2 separate regions of the Homo sapiens genome follow, and region 1 is linked to region 2. The links are contacts of gene promoters, found by promoter capture Hi-C in human tissues and cell types (Jung and others, 2019). All regions are on one chromosome and are shown on one strand. The core of a region is centred on a gene start or on the middle of the fragment in contact, and the rest is flanking DNA. Distances in the headings are between cores, read along the strand shown.

The links. The method cuts DNA at HindIII sites, captures the fragments that hold promoters and counts their contacts. A contact is called where the count stands out against the background at its distance.
Region 1: a fragment that was not itself captured here is called in contact with the fragment with the promoter of PNKP in region 2 in 1 of the 25 tissues and cell types used here (dorsolateral prefrontal cortex).

The regions. Positions count from the first base shown.
Region 1 is chr19:50,521,744-50,527,362 of GRCh38, forward strand. The region is part of intron 2 of LRRC4B (leucine rich repeat containing 4B); the gene reads right to left. The region is part of intron 1 of LOC124904747 (a long non-coding RNA gene); the gene reads left to right. Among named protein-coding and RNA genes, the nearest start is that of ASPDH, 11 kb to the left of the region's middle. The HindIII fragment of the contact is 7,994 bases long and covers 19-5,619 here.
Region 2 is chr19:49,866,326-49,872,047 of GRCh38, forward strand. It overlaps PNKP (polynucleotide kinase 3'-phosphatase), which reads right to left and starts at 1,251. Exons shown (of 17, transcript NM_007254.4): 1 at 1,144-1,251; 2 at 729-892; 3 at 74-120. The coding sequence starts at 879. It overlaps AKT1S1 (AKT1 substrate 1), which reads right to left. Exons shown (of 5, transcript NM_001098633.4): 3 at 5,487-5,564; 4 at 5,222-5,391; 5 at 2,714-3,735. The coding sequence ends at 3,592. RefSeq lists enhancers at 1-706, 707-1,488, 3,687-4,334 and silencers at 648-1,017, 1,088-1,387, 3,462-3,771. The HindIII fragment of the contact is 3,630 bases long and covers 30-3,659 here.

The DNA.
Region 1 (5,619 bases), core at 2,766-5,265, 660 kb after region 2:
GAGACGGGGTTTCCCCATGTTGGCCAGACTGTTCTTGAACTCCCAATCTGAAGTGATCTGCCTGCCTTGGCCTCCCAAAGTGCTGGGAAATTACAGGCGTGAACCACCGTGCCCGGCCACTATACATAGTTTTAAAAATGAAAAAAATAAGGCTGGGCATGGTGGCTCACAGCAGTAATCCCAGCACTTTGGGAGGCCGAGGTGGGAGGATCACTTGAGCTCGGGAATTGAAGACAATCCTGGTCAACAAAGCAAGACCCCTGTCTCTACAGACAAATACGAAAATTAGCCCTGTGTGATGGCATGCACCTGTGGTCCCAGCTACTCAGAAGGCTAAGATGGGAGGATCGCCTGAGCCCAGGAGGCCAAGGCTGCAGTGAACTGTGATCGTGCCACTGAGCTCCAGCCTGCGTGACAGAGGGAGATCCCGTCCCCAAAATAAATAAATAAATATACAAAATGAAAATAGTAATACCAGCAACTAAGACACATTGAACACATCTTTGGTGCCAGACACTGTTCTAAACATTTTGTGGGTAATAACTCTTTTAATCCTCCAAACTGCCCTGTGAGATGGGCACTATTACCAGTCCTTATTCGATACCTGCAATTCCAAAATTCTTAAGGCCCTAACAATCAGATTTTTCCAAACTTTGACACCAAATCCCACTTGGTGGCAAAACCCGATCAGAACTCATGTGAAGCTATTTTATTTATTATTTATTTATTTATTTATTTATTTATTTATTTTGAGATGGAGTCTCGCTCTGTCGCCCAGCCTGGAGTGCAGAGGCGTGATCTCGGCTCACTGCAACCTCTGCCTGCCGGGTTCAAGTGATTCTCCTGCCTCAGCCTCACAAGTAGCTGGGATTACAGGCACGCATCAACACGCTTGGCTAATTTTTTGTATTTTTAGTAGAGACAGGGTTTTGCCATGTTGGCCAGGCTGGTCTCGAACTCCTGGCCTCAGGTGATCCACCCGCCTTGGCCTTCCAAAGTGCTGGGATTACCGGCGTGAGCCACCTCACCCAGCCACATGAAAGTAAAGCTTTTATTGATCCCACTCGTGACTATCCAAACATTTCATTCTAGAAATTCCCATGTTTCAAGACCACTAAGATATTATAAAACCTATACTATCTATTACTATGTTTCTAATATCGGAATGTCAAAACGCATCAGACCTCAAGAGTTTCACACGAAGGATGATGAATTAGGCCCAGGGAGGTGCAGTGACTTGCCCAAGGTCACACAGAAGTGGACAGCAGAGTTGGGACTGGATCCAGGCCCTCTGGTTCCAGAGTCCTGGCTCTTGACCTCTGACCCTGGCTGCCGCCTCTCAGGGCTGGAGCTGGGGTCCACGGGAGGGGCAGTGCTGGGTCAGAGCACGGGAGGCAGGAGCTCACAGGGTCCTCACTACTGATGACCACGCCGGGTGCACTGAGGCCCAGAAGGCCACACAGCCATTGGATCATATCTGCAAAGCCCAGATAGTGGTGTGTGCCAGGGAGAAGGGGACGGACACTGGGGGAATGCGGTGTTACAGTATTAACGGAGGAAACTGAGAACCTCAGATGCATCCTGTGTCATCACAAAGAAGCTGAAGAATTAGGTATCAGAGTATATGCACCAAAAGAAAAAAGAGAAAAAGAGGCCGGGCGTGGTGGCTCACACCTGTAATCCCAGCACTTAGGTAGGCCGAGGCGGGCAGATCAGTTGAGGTTGGGAGTTTGAGACCAGCCTGGCCAACATGATAAAACTCCGTCTCTGCTAAAAATACAAAAATTAGCCGGGGGTGGTGGGGGGTGCCTGTAATCCCAGTTACTCGGGAGACTGAGGCAAGAGGGAGGCGGAGGTTGCAGTGAGCCGAGATCGCGCCACTGCACTCTGGCCTGGGCAACACAGTGAGACTCCATCTTAAAAACAAAAAAGAGGCCGGGCATGGTGGCTCATGCCTGTAATCCTAGCACTCTGAGAGGCCAAGGCAGGTGGATCACCTGGGTCAGGATTTCGAGACCAGCTTGGCCAACATGGCGAAACCCCATCTCTACTAAAAATACAAAAAATTAGTCAGGCATGGTGGCAGGTGCCTGTAATCCCAGCTACTTGGGAGGCTGAGGCAGGAGAATCTCTTGAACCCGGGAGGCGGAGGTTGCAGTGAGCCAAGATCGCCCAGTTGCACTCCAGCCTGGGTGACAGAGTGAGACTCTGTCTAAAAAAAAAAAAAAACTGGAAGGACATACTCCAAGCTTTTCTTAGTAGTGAACTTTATCTGTTGGGAATTATGGACAATTTTTATTCTTGTGTGATATTTTTTCCTCAATGAGGAAAAATTACTTTTACAGTAAGCAGGAATAAAAACAAAACCAAACCCAGATATACCTGAGAGGCAAACAGCGTAAGAAATGGTAGAATCTGTGGCATAGGCAGAATCATAAAATAATAATAATGTATGTCGGTGCTGTCCAATAGAAATAGAATGTGAACACGTGTGTAATGTTTGTTTGGTTGTTTTGTTTTAAGACAGAGTCTTGCTGTGTCACCCAGGCTGGAGTGCAGTGGCGCAGTCTCGGCTCACTGCAGCCTTGACCGTCTGGGCTCAAGTGATCTGCTCGCCTCAGCCTCCTGAGTAGCTGGGACTACAGGCACGTGCCAGCACACCTGGCTAATTTTATTTTATTTTAATTTTTTGTAGAGATGGGGTCTCCCTATGTTGCCCAGGCTGGTCTCAAACTCCTGGCCTCAAGCGATCCTCCCGTCTCAGCCTCCCAAAGTGCTGGGATTATAGGTGTGAGCCACCACACCCAGCCCACATGTGTAATTTTAAATTTCCTAGAAGCCACATTGAAATAATAATAAAGAAAAAACCAAACAGGTGAAATCAACTTTACTAATATATTTATTTAGCTCAACAGGTCCAAAATACTCTCATTTGAACCTGTCATCAGATGCAAACTTGCGATTGAGCCATTTTACACTCTTTATGGTGGAGCTTCGAAATCCAAGGAAACCCAACATGTGTTTTACACCCAGGGCGTCCAGGGCACCTCTCAGTAGCAACGCATGCAGTCCCCGAGCCCAGCCAGCAGCCCCGATGCTGGCGGCTGCCCTGTGAGATGCTGCGGGTTTACTCGGTGCCCAGGGACGCTCTGTGGACACAGTCACCTTTTGTCCATCCAGCAGCCCTAAGAACAAGGACTGTGATCGCCCCGTTTTAGAAAGGAGGAAACAGGAGCCTAAAGAAGTGGCTTGCTCCATGGCAGAGCTGGGCAGGGCTGGCCGGAGCCTGCGCCCCTCCCCGTCTCGCTCGGCCACCTCACACCCACCCATCGCCGTTCCCCGTGGACAGACACGGAAACAGAGGTCACGGGTGTAGTGTGAAGAGCAGAGCCCTGTTCAAATCCCGCCTCCCCCGTCCTGGTTGTAGGGCCTGTCACTTGAGCTCTCTGTACCTCTGGGCTCACTCTTACCACGAGGAGGATGATGAAAAGCACTTCAGAGGGTGAGGGAGAGGAGATGAGGTCCCAGTGTTCAGGGGTGCTCAGCACGTCGTCATTCTCATTGTTATCGTTATCGTTGGCGTTGAGAAACTTGTACCATGCCCTTGGGATTACAGCCCTGAGCCGTCCACTGAAAGGCGGCTCTTAGGGCCAAGAACCGTACTTTTTTTTTTTTTTTTGAGAGGGAGTTTTGCTCTTGTTGCCTAGGCTGGAGTGCAATGGCGTAATCTTGGCTCACTGCAACCTCCACCTCCCGGGTTCAAGTGATTCTCCTGCCTCAGCCTCCCAAGTAGCTAGGATTACAGGCGTCCTCCACCACACCCGGCTAATTTTTGTATTTTTTTTTTTTTTTTTTAGTAGAGACGAGGGTTTTATCATGTTGGCCAGGCTGGTCTTGAACTCCTGACCTCAGGTGATCTGCCCAACTCGGCCTCCCAAAGTGCCGGGATTACACACGTGAGCCACCCTCCCCGGCAAGAACTGTCTGACTGCATCCTTTCCCGCAGAAAATCAGGGCCGCCCCCATCCTGGCCCCCTGTCCTCCGACTCCCTGTTCCAGCCTCTCCTCTCCATGCCAATGGCCCCAGCTGCACCTCAGCCCTCTGCCTCTCCCACCAGGCCCTAGAAAGGTCTGTTTAGGCAGGGCGCATGCCTGTAATCCCAGCTATTTGGGAGGCTGAGGCGGCAGAATCGTTTGAACCCAGGAGGCGAGGTTGCGGTGAGCCGAGATAACGCCATTGTACTCCAGCCTGGGTAACAAGAGAGAAACTCAGTCTCAAAAATAAAATAAAATAGAAGTCTGTTTATACCCACAGATCCCCTGTCCCTCCCCTGGGCCCTTCACAATCCTCCCAGGACTGCCCGTCAGTCCCAGCATAAGACTCTCCCATGCCCCGCTGTGCTGCCACCAAGGCGACAATGACAGTGAGAGCCCATAAGACACAGTCTCTGCCCTGGAGCAGCTCATCCGCCTGGCACCACCTTCTCCTTCCTCCTCTACTTGTTTCCCCCACCTCCTGTTCTGGCAAGTCCCTGAGCCCAGCAGACACACTCTTGCCTCTGGCCTTTGCACCTTTCCTGCTTTTTTCCTGGATACCTCCCTGCATCTGTCCTTCAACACCTAGTTCCAGGGTCACTTACACAGGAGGATGTCCTGGTCCCGTCTCCCCACCCCAGTCTGGTCAGGGATCCCCGGGGCTGGGTTCCCTGGAGCCCAGAGTCCAGGTGCCTCCAGGGAGGGCAGGGACTGGGTCCCAACCACAGGGCGTCTTGCGCAATGAAGGACTCCACCGCCTCAGAGTGAAAAGGATAGACGAAGGATAGGCGCAGTGGCTTACGCCTGTAATCCCAGCACTTTGGGAGGCCGAGGCAGGCAGATGACTTGAGGTCAGGAGTTCCAGACTAGCCTAGGCAATAAGGTGAAACCGTGTTTCTAAAATTAAAAAAATTGTTAAAAAGTAATATATACTCATTTAGGAAAAAATGTATGAGAAGAAAATAAAAATTGGCCAAAATACATCTACCCAGAGCTAATTTATGTTAATCATTTGGCACATCCTTCCAATTTTTTCTATGCATATTATGCAGGGATATATTTTTTCATTATCTTTTACTTTTTTTTTTTTTTTGAGATAGAGTCTCACTCTGTTGCCCAGGATGGAGTGCAGTGGCACAATCTTGGCTTACTACAACCTCTGGCTCCCGGGTTCATGCAATTCTCTTGCCTCAGCCTCATGAGTAGCTGGGATTACAGGCACACGCCACTACGCCCGGCTAATTTTTGTATTTTTGTATTTTTTTTTTTTTTGAGACAGAGTCTCGCTCTGTCACCCAGGCTGGAGTGCAGTGGCACAATCCCGGCTTACTGCAAGCTCCGCCTCCTGGGTTCACGCCATTCTCCTGCCTCAGCCTCCCGAGTAGCTGGGACTACAGGCACCCGCCACCACTCCCAGCTAATTTTCTGCATTTTTAGTAGAGATGGGGTTTCACTGTGTTAGCCAGGACGGTCTCGATCTCCTGACCTCGTGATCTGCCCGCCTCAGCCTCCCAAAGTGCTGGGATTACAGGCATGAGCCACCACGCCCGGCTGTTTTCTTTCTTTTTTCTTTTTTTTTTTTTT
Region 2 (5,722 bases), core at 1-2,500:
TTCACTGACGGCTTGCAATTCCTCCCCAAATCCCATCCCCAGGCCTTGCTGGCCCTTGCAGAGGCACTGATACCTGTTTCACTGCCACTGTCCGGGTCTCAGGATCTGCGACCAGCTCCACTGAGGATTGGAGGGGTGGAGTCAGGATTTGCATCCTTGTGTGATTGGGTCCCTCATTTCTGGGGAGTGTGGCCTGCTTCAGGCTATAGCATCCAGGGAGTAAGAGGCAGTTTATTTCTACATGGGATTGGCTCCTTGACATGCAGTAGCCAGATAGTGGCACTAGGATTGCCTGACACTGGTCCTTGCAAGGGACAGGGAGGTACTTTTCTCTACAGAATTGGTTTCCTCCTTGACAAAAAATGTGGCTAGATATAGGTCCGGGGCTTGGCCTGTTACCATCCATCCCAACCTAGCGACATTTACTTTTCTCCACAGGATCATTTTTCTCTTGACGAAGGTCGTCGCCTGTTTCTGGATTTCCCGATGGCCTGAGCATCATCCGCGCAGTGAACATCCTCCCTAAATCGGCTCGATCCCCTCTCCCCCAAAGGATCTAGCTAATTCTAAATCAAGCACAAACTTTATCTTCCTGTACTCCCTAGAGAGCACCTTCCGACTTCGGGGCTGGCTGCACCACTGCAATCCCGCGTAGCAGCCAAGCGTCCCTCTGGATTGTTCCCGCTTTTGCAGCAGGCCACACCCCCTCCAGCTCAGGCCCCGCTCACCTTGAGTTCTGGAGCACTTCCGGTCCGTAACCTGGGTCAGGGGTCCCCTGCCCAGGACCAGGGCTTGCCCGTCCGAGGGCAGGAAGATGGGGGGCGCTCCCCCAGGGGGGCTCTCGAGCCACAAGCGGCCCGGGGCCTCCACCTCGCCCATCCTGGGTGCCGGCCTGGGGAGCAGGTAAACGGGCTTGAGCGGCGCACAGCCCCAATTTGCTGCAGGAAGTCCCGCCTCCTCCCACATCCACTAGAAAGTTTCCCCACCATTAACTGCTCCGGAAGTCCCACCCGCTCGCCTTCCGCGGGTCGACCCGTTTCCCAGGCGACGACGCGTGCTCCATCCCTCCCCGAGTTGCAATCCCCACTTTCCAGCGTACAGGCAGAGAGCCTCGCACATGCCTCCGCCCCGCCCCGTACTCACCCGGGACCGCGGCTTGGGCTCACGGCCACTTCCGACCAGGGAGGTCCTGCCCGAGGTGCCCCGCCTGCAACCCGGCCGGCGGCGGTCGGTTCCTCGGCGGACGGAAATGACTCGTCCCCTCGTGGGTGGGGGGCGGGGCCTGGCCTCCTCCCACAGCAGCCACGCCCCTTCCCCGACTCCCGGCCCCCAGGGTCTCTCGGCAGCCCTGACCTTCATCTCTCTTGCTGCAACGCGAGGCTCAGGCCGGTAGCGGGGACTGGATCCTCCGTTAGCAGATTTGCCTCTTTCCACCTTGACTTCTAATTTTCATCCCAGGGAGGAAGATTTTTTTCCCATCTGATGGTCATTGTCAGTCGAGGAAACCTCCGCCCCCGACAGCGCCCCTAAGTCCTTCTTTGGCTTCACCCTCGATGTTCTAGTTTCCTCATCTATAAAAAGGATAATCGTTTCCGCTTCGTGGGGTTACCATGACGATTAAAGGAGCTAACACGTGACAAAAGCTTTAAAAAATGGGTGGTAGTGAGCCCTGTTTAAGTCTTTTTTTTTTTTTTTTTTTGAGACGGAGTCTCACTCTGTCGCCCAGGCTGGAGTGCAGTGGCGCGATCTCGGCTCACCTGCAAGCTCCGCCTCCCGGGTTGACGCCATTCTCCTGTCTCAGCCTCCCGAGTAGCTGGGACTACAGGCGCCCGCCACCACGCCCAGCTAATTTTTTGTATTTTGAGTAGAGACGGGGTTTCACCGTGTTAGCCAGGACGGTCTCGATCTCCTGATCTCGTGATCCGCCCACCTCGGCCTCCCAAAGTGCTCAGATCCGTTTAAGTCTTATTTAGTGTTAGCATTCTTTCGGTAGTGGTCTGGTGGGACTACGTTTACCTAGTCCTAATTTCGGACGAGGTTCCACCTGCTTTCTAACCTCCAGCCATTTTTTTTTCCCTTTGGAGAAGGGGTCTCACTGTGCTGCCCAGGCTGATCTCGACCTCCTGGTGTCATGTGATCCTCCCGCCTTGGCCTCCCAGCGTGTTGGGCTTATAGGCGTGAGGCACCAAGCCCAGTTGCTCCAGTCCTTTTATAATAGAAGACTCCCGGCTGGAGTTCCTGGCTTTGCTGGTGAATATGTGGGCTCTGTCTCCAACACTCACCTCCTCAAGATTGGGTTCCATGGTCACATAAGACTGGGATGCTCTCCTCCACCCCATGAACCTGTGTCTTCATATCTATAAAATGGGCACAAAGCCAGGCGCCGTGGCTCACGCCTGTAATCCCAGCACTTTGGGAGGCCAAGGCGGGTGGATCATTTGAGGTCAGGAGTTCAAGACCATCCTGACCAACATGATGAAACCCTGTTTCTACTGAAAATACAAAAATTACCCGGGCGGCAGTGGCGCGTAATCCCAGCTACTCGGGAGGTTGAGGCAGGAGAATCGCTTGAACCTGGGCGAGAGTGGGACCCTGTCTCAAAAAAGTAAATAAAATGGGCACAGTAATTCCAACCCCCAGCTATTCACTGATAATCAGACGCTGCCATTCGGTTTCAGAAAATGTTGAATGAACACTCACAACACACTTCACATTTATCTCAGAGGTAAAACTCTTTAATCTCAGAGCGCCCCTCCCAACTGCCGATCCCCCAACCCCTCACTCTCTCCCCCACACCAGGGCCGGAGAGTGAGGGCCCCTGCCCCCCACCTTGGGTGGACGAGGGCCCTTTAAGGCACCTGTGGAGGTGGGGGGCGAGGGGCGGGAGCTGGTACCATCCTGGATGCAGGGACGGGCTTCGATTGGCAGGCTGTTGTGGGGATGGATGGAACCAATGAAAGGGGGTGCCAGAGGCAGGGACAGTTTGGGGCCATCCCTGAGGGGGTCAGGGAACAAGTTGTCGGGACGTGGGCAAAGACGACCCCAGTCCCCGTAGTGTAAAGAACGTAAATTGAAGGCCCCGGGCCAATTCTGGGAAGAGGAGGGCTTGGCCACGCCCCCAGGAAGCTGGAGCCAATTGGGAGGGAGAACTCAGGAAAAGCGGACGGTGACTATGTAGAGACTGGTCAAGCCCTTTACAGGATTTGAGCCAATCAAAAAAAGAGCTGTCCAGCGACTAGGGGATGGAGCCAATGCCGTGCGAGCAAATCCCTTGTCGCTAGGCGGAAAACAAAGGAGTTGACCCATTTAGAGCTTAGAACTCAGCGAGCCAATCCCTTAATAGAAGGAATCTGTCGCTAGGCGGAGAGAGACGACAGACCCAATCGGGAAACGGGACAGATGCCGCTCCTCGGCGCGGCAGGTCGTGGGCTGGAAGGACGGCGGGGATTGGCAGAGGCGGGACAATCTTGGGAATGGGAGACGCAAGGAGGCCGGTCCCGGATCGGCCTCAGATTAGCAGGCCCCGGGAGTGGGGCGGGGGCGTAGTGTGGGACGGGGCGGACGCGGCCCGGGGCGCTCCCTCCCTGGACTTCAATATTTCCGCTTCAGCTTCTGGAAGTCGCTGGTGTTAAGCCGCGGCCGTGGCAGGTCCCCGAAGACCTGGGTGTCCTCGGCCTCTCGCAGCACCAGCGCGCGCATGCTCGCCGCGATGCGGTCCAGGTCGGGCGAAGAGGGCTGCGGGGACGGCGACGGGGCGAGGTCAGCGCCGGCAGGGCAATCCCCCTGCACCCACACGCGGTCCAGGGGTGCACCCGGGCTCCAAGCCCACTTCTAGCACGTCCCTGCCCTGCCACCTGTGCCCTGCGATGCCCACTGCCAGCAGTGCCCCTCCCCGTCTTGCTCCACGTAGGAACCCTTCTACCCGGTTCAGACACCTCCTCCACGAAGCCTACCTGCCCCTCTCCCTCTCCCCTTCTTGGCCTAGGACATTGCTTCCTACACAGTGGAAGTGCTGTTGCCTGCTAGCCATTAAGGCTGAGTGCACCGTCTCATGTCTGAGGATCTGGGCTGGGGTTTCAGTCATGTTCCAATCAGACCTCTGCCGCTGACAAACTATGAGCAAGAGGTTTTGCTTCCCTAGGCCTCAGTCTCCCCTTCTGAAAAATGGGGCGGATAACAGGGTCTCTGTGAGGGCTGAGATAATCAGCTGTTACTGCCTTATCATGTGGCCACTGCGCTACAGAAAAGATCCCTCGCTGTGTCAGCCCCCGCCAAGGAGCCTGCAGTTCTGGCACCTAGTACTGCCTCCACTACAGCCCCCGTCACCCGGAGCTGGGCCTGTCCCCTCGCAGGATGGGACCCGGAGACCCAGATCAGGAACTGGACCTGAGCCCAGTGGGAGACCAGCCCCCGGGCACAGCACGCAAGAGGCCAGAGCATTCAATTAACTGTGTTGCCATGAGTCGCAAGCACAGAGAGCAGCAGCAGGTGGACCCCGCCCGCACCAGGCCCTGTTCCTGGTCTTCAGTGCTCACTGCTTCATTGAGGGAGGATGCACAGAAAAGGTCACCACTGTGACTGCTGGTTTGCATATAAGGACACTGAGGCTTGAGGGGGGGACTGTGGGGACCCAGGCCTCCTCCCTCAAAGCCCACAGCTCCTTCCTGAAACACACCTGGGTTCCAGTCCCAGCTCTGCCTCTCAGGGAAGTCACATGTCCCCTCAGTGCCTCAGTTTCCCCTCTGCTTCAGGGAGGCTCAGTGAAGGGTGAGGAGGACCCACCTAGGCCAGCAGAGCCCAGCCCAGGAGCTTCAAACAGGGGTTGCTACAAGGGGTGAACAGGGGACCAGGGGGTGGGACAAATTCTGCAAAGGGCTAGGAATGTGCAGGGTGGGGATGGGAGGTGATCTGAACCCTCCAAGCCTCAGTTTCTCCACTGGAGGGCATGCCAAAACACCTGTGCCTTGCCCAGAGCAGGTGTTCTATAAATAGAGACGCTCCTGGAAAGGAGAGGCCTTCTCTATAAGGCACTAGGACACATGGTAAGGCTGCAATTGTTAAAACTGCAAGGCTCGTGTCCAAGAACTCGCCTCTTGAGGTTGAGGGGAGGATTCAGTTAGCTTATGGGTGGAAAGCAGCATCCATGCTGGAGGGCTTCCTGGAGGAGGCGGCTCAGAGCCCTTCCAGCTGCCCTCCCTACCTCCCCACATTTGCCCCTCACCGGCCCATTCTCCTCATCTGATGACCGCGCCTCTGTCCTCTTCTCCTTGAAGCCCCAGACGGGCACAGACACAGGCAGGGACTTGGCGTACTGCTGTGTGGGTAGGGCTGAGGCTGGGGGCACTGAGCAGGTGGGGGGGCCGGCGGGGGTCTCCTCGCTCAGGCTGCCATCTGAAAGAGAGGGTGGACTTCAGCTTCTGTCCCTGCCTTTGTGTCGGCCGTGTGCCTGCCCTCAGGTCGGGAGGGGAACAGCCTGGGACACTCACCATCTGTACTCTCGGGGTCTGACTCACAGAAGGGGGGAAGGTCCTGGAGGGTGGCGTCCTCATCCATCACAAAGAGCCCTGTGGATGACCTGAGTTAGAGGCCCAGGCCAGGCAGCACCTAGCCATGCTCCATGTGTCCTCCTCCTCAGCCACGGCCACTGCCACAGCCACCACCTCCACCTCCCTGAAGCTTCTGAGACCCATTTCCTTCACCTCAAAAACAACTTCCTCTAGCA